Linked DNA regions of Homo sapiens: region 2 is linked to region 1. The links are contacts of gene promoters, found by promoter capture Hi-C in blood cells and fetal thymus (Javierre and others, 2016). All regions are on one chromosome and are shown on one strand. The core of a region is centred on a gene start or on the middle of the fragment in contact, and the rest is flanking DNA. Distances in the headings are between cores, read along the strand shown.

Region 1 (5,168 bases), core at 1,306-3,805:
GGTGTTAAGTGTCTGTCACCAGTCAGAGTAGCACTTAATGACTTACTCAGTTACTTAAATGTTTATGACCTTAAGTACCTGTCTTGCAAAAAACACCACCGCCACCTCTTCTGCACCCATTCAGTGTCTTGCTTCAGGATCTAGATAGAGAATGCTGGATAAACCTCAAATGAATATTATTTCTCCCTTCAGCCACAACTGTCCCAAATTACTCTTCTTCCTTTATCTACTTTTAAATAAAGTGGAAACCTTAACGTGCCTGAATTTCCCAGGTTCTGACTAAACAAGTGGATCATCAAAACTTCAAAATTTAGGATAGAATATTAAGTGGAGCATGCATATTACTGCTTTGGCAGTTGCCCTTTCTTTTGTATTAACGTTTCAGTCCAGGTTTTTCGAAAAGCAAGTAATTATTACACACGCACAGTTAACATTCAAATTATCACTTTTGAGATATTTTCCTTAGACAATTTAGCATATCTCTTCTATCTTAAAAATTAAAGTATCCTACCCACCACGAGTTAATTTTTTTTAACAAAAACATCTAAAATAACCCTCGACAAAGCCAAAGTATATTAAACCACAAAATGAAAAAGTGGTAAGTAAAAGTCTCACCAGCTAAAAAGCACTTCGAGTACCAACAGCCTTCCCCGGCTCGCTGTTAACCGTCAAACCGTCAAAGCATTTGTGGAGGAACCTGGGGCAAAGTTCCGCGCCGGGTTCTCCAGCTGTGGGTTCATCAGCTTAGCCCACCACTCCCACGTAACACCAGTTTGGGGAAATGCAAACACGCCACATGTGCCCACATGTGCATGTTTTGATCATGTTTAACCACTTTTAACCGCCGTAGGTACGTAATCAGCTCCCGCGGCAAAGGTTTAAGAAAAAAAAAAAAAAAGCCTTGTGCATGCATCTTACCCCCACTTAAACCACCACCACCAGATGAACCGAGGCGAATTAAACCATTTTGAACGTTAACGCCGCTGCACAAAGCGGTATGAAAGGGTTCTCTGCCTTTCTGAAACGCCGGGCAAAAGTCCCTCAGCAAGTTTCAAAACTAATGACCGTACAGCGCTGCACAAATAACAAAAGCTTAATACCAACCACCAGGCCGTCAACCCGCTCACGTTACCACTGCCCAGAAGGCTTTTAAAAACAAGCATTGAAAAGGGAACAATAAAAAGCGTCTCACCGCAAACACAGCACGAAAGGGACTGTCGGAAGTAAGGCAAGAGCCTGTTAATCTCAGTAAACGCCTTGGGGTCTCCGGGGTCGTAGTTGAGCACTAGGCGGCTCGCGGAAATGTAGAGAGCAGTAGCATTCACGGGGTTCATTGCAGACACTTCGACACCAATGGCTCCCGGTTGAAAAGAAATTCCGGATCCAACTTAGTAAGCAGCCAGGGAACGATGGCGAATTTGCAACAATTCGGAAGAAATCAGAGCCGAACCATTGGCCAAACAAGTAACCAAAATCCGTGCAAGTTTGTGGAGCTGAAACAATCCTCCCACACATGGGGCCTTGGCGCCCCTCCGTCCCTGAGACTTCCAGACCAAAAATATGAGAGAGAAACCAGCGTTCGAGTTCGTCCGGAGCGACCACAGAGCGCAGAACGCGGCGGCTTGGGCGCTCGGGGCGGGACTCGGAGCTCAGTCTAGCCCCGCGGCTCGGCAGGCGGCCTGCACTCGAGCTCCATCTCCGGACACGGAGGCGCCTCCTCAAGTCGAGCTGGCAGGCGCGGGAGCAGGCCCCGGCCCCGTCTGAGGCGCGGCACGCTTCTCCCGGGCTGCAGGGCCTCTTACTCCATCCCAGTACAGGGCGCGGAGGCGGCGGCGACGGCAAGGACGACGGTCGGGCAGCGGCTTCCCGGATCTAGTGCAAGACGCCGCGGCGGCGACGAAGGTTGATGTTGCGGCTGGCGGACGCCGCCGCCGCGCTCTCCATATCGGACGCGGGGCCCAGACTGCGCCCTGGCTCTCCGCCCCGTGGGTTGCAGCCCGCAGTTCCCCGAGGTGGCGAGGCGGGCGGGAGTCCTCAACCCGGAGGGGAAGGCCGGGGAGGAAGTGCGCGGGCCGCCGCCGGCGGGCGGGAGGGGGCGGGGGGCAAGCCCGGCCGGGCCGCGGCGGCGCCCCTCGCGCCTCAGTCGCACACTCCGGGGTCACCAGACTCAAGCGCCGCCCCCTCACTGCCCGGCCATTTTTTCGGCGCCACACACACAGACGACTCCTCCGCCGAGCACGACGGCCGCCGCCGCCCTCAGCACTCCCCGGCCGCGGAAGGCAAGCGCTCACACCGCCAGGCCCCGCCGCCGCCCAGCGCACACAGCAAGGCCCCGCCGCAGGCCCCTCCCCCGTGCCTCGCCGCCCTCACCCCGACTCCACGCGCCACTCCAGCTCGGTAGGGCCCGGGCTGCTGCGGCCTTAATGGATCCCGCGGGCTGTGTGGCGCCTCAGGCCTCTGCTGGCGGCGACGACGACCGTTACCCCAACGGGCAAAGCCACTGTCATCCCCGAGACTCCCCCGCCGCCGTCGTCGCTAGCGCTCGCACGCATGCGCAGAGCACACTCTCACCCCTCCCCCCTTTCCTCTCCCTTCGCTTCCCTTTTCCCTTGCTTCTCCTCTAACAACCCCCTCCACAGCCTCCCAGAGCTACCGGCTCACTCCACGCATGCGCAAGCTGCTACCTAGCTCCGCCGCCTTTCGCCCTTCCGCGTGCGCTTTGACCGCCCACCCAGAAAACCGGATAAACACATCAGCCTGCTCGCGCCAGTCCCTCACCGCTGCCAACCCACCCTGGGCTCACTGCGCATGCCTGGCTCTCCACTTCGACTCTCAGAATGGAGCATGCTCTCTGCGAGCCGACAGCTCTCTTCGCCCCTCCCCCACGTGCTCTCAAATTCCCTCTCCCAGGCATGTGGGCTGTGGTGAAACATTCGTTAGCTGGCACATCCTTCCCCAGTGTGGGCTGCAGGCTTCCCGCATTACACTGCTTCTGTGCCCGCCAACGCCGGGGCCCGACTTGGTAGCGCCATGTGGCGCTCTGCACTGGCCTGAACGCGGCCTCTCGTCCTGACTGACCGCGGTGTGAGGAAATAGCCGCGCCAGGCCCCAAGCCCCGCCCTCGCGGCCTTTCTCCTGGAACCGCTCATCCCGACCGCGGAAAGGGCGCAGCCTCGGCTGGCTGGCAGGCTCTCGCCGAGCCGGGAAGGCTGCAGTAGTCAACGTGGCTGCGCGCCCAGCAGGCGTGCGGACGGCTTTTGCCGGGTCGGGGCCGCGTTCCGCACCTCTCTGCGGTGGTTCGCAGTCAGAGGGCTCTAAGGCCCTGGCAGGCTGTATGTAAGCGTGGAGGCTCGAACCCACTGCCCCCTCCTACCCGTCGGACCCGCGCTGTTCCCACGGCCTCTGGCCCTTGGACTCGTGCGGCCTCACCTTCATGGGTGCCGATCAGGACTTCACCGAGCTCTCACCGGAACAGAGTCCTGTTTTAAAAACAAAACGAACTCCTTTTTTTTTTTTTTGAAAGACCTAGCTTTTTTAAAAGACCTAGCTCTTCTGTGTGAACAGATGTCTTGAAGAATGCGTGATCTTGCTCTAGAACAAACCCAAATCCTTGCAAATGTTTTGTTTTTTAAAACAAGCTTTTGCCTTTTGTTTTTGCAGGAGATCAAGGGCACTGGGATATAAATAAACAAAAGCCTGACTTAGTAGATGACTTCCCTCCCATCTCAAAGTACAAAACCTTTTTTTGAGTAGCACAAATAGTAACAGGCCATAGGAAGCATTTCTTATCTCTGTACACACCAAAGCTCCTCAGCATAATTTTTCATGCACAGTAGGTACTCTATACGTTTGCAAAGTGAAAATTATGATGCGTGTAAATCTATTGTGGCACATGTTACATATGTACACAGGCACGTATATGGAACATGTAAATGTGGTACGTGTTAGTTACAAGCTGCCACTTGAGGTGAGTAGGAATAGTTAAGATATCAAGGGAACACATATAATCTCGATTTATAATTTCTATTACCATTTGAAGACAGGTTTTTTTTTCACAAGACCTACCATATTATCAACACTTAAATATTAAGCAGTAAGAATATAACTTCCTAATTTTGATTAGCTGTGCAAACTGTATTTGGTTGTCTTATACGTGGAAAATGACAAATATTCTAAAAGCCACTCTCATTTTTAAAAGCTCTCTTTTTTTTTTTTTTTTTGCATAAGAGATCTTTTCTAAGCTCTCCTTCAAATAAAATTGTTACACGGTTCTATTTTTACTCCAGACTCTAAGGTCTTCTCCCACAACACAGAGGTGGTTCTCCCCAAAAGGAGCAACACAGAGTAAAATAATCAGCACTGTTTTCCGTTAAGACAATAAATTAGCAGTCACCCTAAGCAAGTGATTACTTGCAGGGCATTAACCTTGCTAATTTTCTCATAACTGGATTTTTACAAATGTCTTCAGATGTGTACACCCCAAATTAAGATTAATTCTGTTGATCATTCGTGTGCATGGACGTGAGAGAGAAAACGTGTGTTAAGCCAGTTCTTTTTTAGCTTCTGAAATTGGTTGCAACTGGTAATAAGAGTATTGTACTTAGAGGCAAAGAATCTTGAGGTATATTCTCTTCTAATATTTATTGGCTTGCTTGAGCCTTGCCTAAAAGGGAAACAAATGAATTGTTTACAGAAAATGAAGTGCTTCAGCAAAGAAACTATCAACAGGGTAAACAGACAACCTACAGAATAGGAGAAAATGTCTGCAAATTATGCATCCAACAAAGGTCCAACATTCAGAATCTATAAGGAACTTAAAAAAATCAACAAGCAAAAAACAACCCCATTAAAAAATGGGCAATGGACATGAACAGACACTTCTCAAAAGAAGACATAGGCCAGGTGCGGTGGCTTATGCCTGTAATCCCAACACTTTGGGAGGCCTAGGCAGGCAGATCACCTGAGGTCAAGAGGGCGAGACCAACCTGATCAACATGGTGAAACCGCATGTCTACTAAAAATACAAAAAAATTAGCCAGAAGTGGTGGCAGGTGCCTGTAATCCCAGCTACTCCAGAGGCTGAGGCAAGAGAATTGCTTGAACCTGGGAGGCAAAGGTTGCAGCGAGCCGAGATCGAGCCACTGCACTCTAGCATGGGCGACAGAGCA
Region 2 (5,168 bases), core at 1,470-3,969, 2.0 Mb after region 1:
CCATCTTGGCCAGGCTGGTCTCGATCTCCTGACCTCGTGATCTGCCCGCCTCAGCCTCCTAAAGTGCTGGGATTACAGGCGTGAGCCACCACGCCCGGCGGCAATTCAGTCTTTTAATGTGCTCAGGGAAGTAAGTGTTACCCTTGCCTCCTTTCTTCTCTCACACCCTACATCGAGTCTAATGGCTTATCCATTTTATAACTTCAGCACTTACCTGGAATCTGAATACATCTTCCACAGTGTTTGGTCTAGTCCATGCTACCATCATCTATGAAATAATAGCATTACCGGTGATGGAAATAACCTCCTTCCTAGTCTCCCTACTTTTGTCTTGTATTCCTTCCCTTTCTCCACACGTGTCTGTTCCTAAATTGCAACCAGAGTGATGCTTTAAAAACATAAGTCAGGGCCAGGCATTGTGGCTCACGCCTGTAATCCCAGCACTCTGGGAGGCTGAGGTGGGAGGATCGCTTGAGGTCAGGAATTTGATATCAGCCTGGGCAACGAGGTTGAGACCTTGTCTCTACTAAAAATAAACAAAACATAAGATAAGTACACACATAAGTCAGATCATGTGTCTATTTCCCTAAACCCTCTAATGGCTTCCCAACTTGGACCATAAAAATAAAAATCCTAACAATGACCAACAAAGTTCTATACTAGTGCTATCCAATGGAAAAAGGCAAGCCACATACGTGATTTAAAATTTTCTAGCAGCCATGCTGTCTAAAGTAAAAAGGAAACAAGTGAAGTTGATTTTAATGTTATTTAAACAAGTAAAGCAAAATATTATTTCAATATATCTGTGTAATAAGTTATTACTGAAATTTGTTGCAAAAATAGCAAGTCTTCAGTATCTGATGTATAGTTTATACAATTTGGATGCTAAATTTTTATTGGAAATACTTGATTCATATTTAGGTGTCATAAAGTTTATAGTTGAAAATGTAAACTCATATACCCAAGTAGTTCCAAATCATTCTTAAAAGTTTTAAAATAACTGAATCCAGTATTGGTTTTTTAATTTTAATTAAAGTTTAAAATATAAACAAAATTCACTTCCTAGCCACATTTCAAATTTCAATTGCCATATGAGGCTAGAGGCTGGCTTACTGGACAGTGCAGCTCTTTACCATCTGGCGCCTGTTCTCTGCCTCATCTCCTGCTGCTTTCTCCTTTGCTCATTCTGCTCCAGCTATAATGGCCTCCTATTCTTTGATTATGGCAGATACTTCTCATTTTAGGGCATTTGAATTTGCTGTTCTTTTTGCCTAAAAAAAGCTCTACCCCTAGGTAGGTGCACAGTCTGCTCCTTCACCTTCTTTAGGACTTCGCTCAAATGTCACCTTTTTAGACGTTCTTTCTCTTATCAACCCATTTAATATCTGTACAAATTGCCTTCTCTCCCTACCTCTTATATTTCTAGGCTGCCTTCTGAAAGAAGAGAGAAGAGGACTGGGAGGGGAGAGGTGACCTGATCTACAAGGAGCAGTGAAATATCAGAATTGTCCTATACAGATAAATGAATACATTAGACAAAAGCGTAGAGTAAGATAAGGTTGAATAAGTGATCATACCCCTTCAGCTTGCTTGCTGTCTGAGCAACTTATATGATTATTTTTGCGTATACATAACAATTTCAGATACTAAGCTTCTTAAATGCAAGGCTCTGCCTTAATGTCCTCTTATACCTTCTTTGGCATCTAGCATGTAACTTTGACCAAAAGGCAGTGTGAAATCTCCAATTGTGGTCCACCTATTGGTTAGCCTTTTGTGTTTTACATCCTGCGGTGCCTCTCTATCCTCTGTTCTTTTCAGTGCCAGCAACTAGTATACTTGCTGATTGTTTACTTGTATTGGCTTTGCATGCCCTGTGGCAATGATTGTGACATTGATTCTTTCTTTCCTTGTCCATCCTGGTACACTCTTACTCATTTTCCAAAGCCAATTCCTGAAAGAAGCCTTCCCTGATTCCCCTGGTTTACAAATGTCCTCCTCAGTGCCGCCTTTATGTTGTGTATACTATAATTCTTATATTCTAATAGGGAAATAATCATGTAAACATAGTAACAAGAGAATATGAATTCTTGAGAACAGGGACTGTGCCTTGCTTATCTTCTTTATTAAAGATAAATTTATTTTTAATGCTTTCCTCAGTGCATGTTATATTGAATGAACCAGGCACAGAGCAGCAAAAGAATTGCTATTAATGGGGGAAACTTATGTTAAGATACACATCATTGAGAGGTAAGAGATGTGGAGCTATAGACAGTAAAGATAGAACAGTAACATCAAAATCAATCTCTGGATAGGAGGGTCTGAGGTACTTAGAACTTACTATGTCAGAAAACCAGGAAAACATGTACTCAAATGGAGTGGCAAAACTTACCTGTTTGTATTATAGTAGTGCTTTTTTTCAGTTCTTCTGTAGCTTTTGGTTGTCATATATTGTTTCTTGATATGTTCGTACAGTTATTTGTGTCCTAACTGTACATTTGAAGATCTGACAAATGGGTAAAGATCATGAGAAGCCCCATTTGTAAACCGAGGGATTGAGCAGATTATTGTTGAGAGTCCTTCTAACTCTGTGATTCTGTTATTTTGAGGAAAACATGTGTTAGCAGGTGCTTTAATGGTACCCTGGTGGGCACAAGAATTTTCACCACTTTTGCCTCTTTGCTTCCACTGTTTGTTCTTTAAAAATGAAGTACATGCTAAAAGCAAGCATTTGAGCTGGATGTAGTGGCACATACCTGTAGTCAAGTTACTTGGGAGGCTGAGATGAGAGTATTCCTTGAGCCCAGGAGTTTGAGATCGGCCTGGGCAAGACGGCATCTCTGTTTTTTTTTTTTTGTTGTTGTTGTTGTTTTAAAGGAGGTATTTGAGTTGCCTTTGAGGATATTTTGGTAGCAAATTCAGAATACGAAAATATGTGTTGGCTGGGCACAGTGGCTCATGCCTGTAATCCCAGCACTTTGGGAGGCCAAGGCGGGCGGATCACGAGGTCAGGGGTTCAAGACCAGCCTGGCCAACATGGTGAAACCCCATCTCTACTAAAAATACAAAAATTAGCTGGATGTGGTGGTGCGCGCCTGTAATCCCAGCTACTCAGGAGGCTGAGGCAGGAGAATTGCTTGAACCCGAGAGGCGGAGGTTGCAAGTGAGCCAAGATCATGCTGCTGGACTCTAGCCTGGGCAACAGAGCGAGACTTCGTCTCAGGGGAGGGGGGAAGAAAATATATGTTGACTTAGTTAACTATATTATCAGAAAACTAGAGTTTGTGTAGTTCTCCAGAGTTATTTTTGGTGGCTCAAAAGTTTTAAGCTGGTACTGTGTCTTGGTAATTAACTTTTACTGATTTGGAGTTCTGAGTAAATTGGAAAAGTTATTTCTTCCTCCCTATAAGAACTTATTGCTAACGGCGGGGGAGTATATAAAGATATTTCAGCAGGCATCAGAAAAAACAAGCAGGGGACAAAACTTTTTCTCTGGTTCTTAAATATGGATTCTTTATTTTAAATAATATGAAGCATCAAAAATTAAATATTAAAAAAGAGTTACCCTCCAAAATAAGTATTACAAGAAATAACACAATAGAAAAACTTCACAATACAAATGAAAAGGAGGTAAGTGTCTTCCCTTTGTACTCTTTCTAATTCTACCCACCCTTATCCAGTTCAGTTGAGACAGCTTGGGTGGCCTACAGATCACTCTAATTCTTAATTGTTTTCCTTCACAGAAAGTGTGACAACTCCTTTATTTATTTTTACTTCTGCCTCCAGCAATGAAGCTTCTCTACATTAGTCTAAGGATTTCCTCTTGTACCTAGACTACCCCTTACAGACTGTTTCATGGAGTCCTCACTCTTCCCTGGCTGAGAGCCAGATTTTGTCCTTTTGTGTATACTAATTTATAGAAGTAATATTCCTATCTATTAATTATACGTACATGACACCCAGCAGTTAGTGAAGAAACTTAGCTTGCTGCTAAGTGTATATGCTAACATATTTGCCTAGGTCTTCTGTTGGCAAAACTTCTAGGGCTCGCCACAAAGGTCCCACTGTCTAGCTATGTGTTTAGTGAGAACTAGGAGTCTTCTTTCTTTTCTGTCTTACTGTTTATCTTTGTCATGAGCTTTTTTTCAGACTAATGTAATAAAGTATTTACAAAAATATACTTAATATCTTCCTGATGATTCTTCTGAATGAACAAAGTGATGTGCTTTGTAATTACGTTGATTTTCCAAACTCTCCTGCTAGTTTTAAGACATAGTAAAATGTATACCATGGACATTCTTACTTTTGAAATTGGGCATTCTTAGAAGAAAAATATTGATCTTTGACATCTTGAACTGAACACTACAGTTTCCCATTATTTTGATACCTGAGAGAGAAAAGTCACCTGCTTAAGTATCCCATATCATGAGGAGGCAAAACTAAGTATTTCATATAAATTTTAATGCATCTACCTTAAGTTAAATTATCTAGTCACTTGATATTGTGGGTGATGCTGTGAATTTGTGATTTGCATGGCTTCAGATGTCATAATTTTTCCCCCCACTTTCTAGGAAGTAACAGCTAGCAGTCGCCACTATGTTGACAGGCTATTTGACCCTGATCCCCAGAAAGTTCTACAAGGTGTCATGTAAGTAGTATGTATTTAAGAGTCTATCAAAAAGTTGTTTGTTTTCATGTTTTAATCTGCCACATATTTTAATTTTGAAAATACAGGGTTATACCTTTTTTCTTTCATTTGGCTTCTTTCTAGAAAGACTGCTTGACATTCATGACGTTTAATATTTTACCATAAAGAATTGTCTTTTGAATAGTTGTTAACTGACATGGTTAGCTTCATTTTTTGTAGAATACTTGTTTCACATTAAAAAAATGTTTTCTTTGGAGAATGCTTTTGCTTCTTTAATATCCACAAAAGCAGGAGAATAAGATTGATGGTCTTTCATAATTGGAATGCAGTGAAAGAATAGACCAGTAGGGTTTTTTGTTTTGCTTTGTTTTGTTTTTGGTTAACTCATTAACTGTCACCAAGATTGAGTCTCCTGTTGATGTTTTAAATTTCGAATTTAGAAAGCTGTCAGAAAATTTAAACTCTTAATAACCATAATGCCTTTTTTTCTCCAAAATTTCATGTTTAATGAGAGGAAACATTT

The links. The method cuts DNA at HindIII sites, captures the fragments that hold promoters and counts their contacts. A CHiCAGO score of 5 or more calls a contact.
Region 2: a contact is called between a fragment that was not itself captured here and the fragment with the promoter of MSL2 in region 1, in 1 of 17 cell types (erythroblasts). The highest score is 6.1, in erythroblasts.

Annotation. Positions count from the first base shown.
Region 1 is chr3:136,193,780-136,198,947 of GRCh38, forward strand. MSL2 (MSL complex subunit 2) reads right to left here and starts at 2,556. Exons shown (of 2, transcript NM_018133.4): 1 at 1,193-2,556. The coding sequence starts at 1,334. RefSeq lists enhancers at 1,344-1,413, 1,464-1,513, 1,513-2,259, 1,564-1,633, 2,260-3,006 and 2 more and a silencer at 1,974-2,363. The HindIII fragment of the contact is 2,546 bases long and covers 1,091-3,636 here.
Region 2 is chr3:138,205,249-138,210,416 of GRCh38, forward strand. ARMC8 (armadillo repeat containing 8) reads left to right here. Exons shown (of 22, transcript NM_001363941.2): 2 at 4,569-4,645. Among named protein-coding and RNA genes, the nearest start is that of ARMC8, 21 kb to the left of the region's middle. The HindIII fragment of the contact is 2,140 bases long and covers 1,650-3,789 here.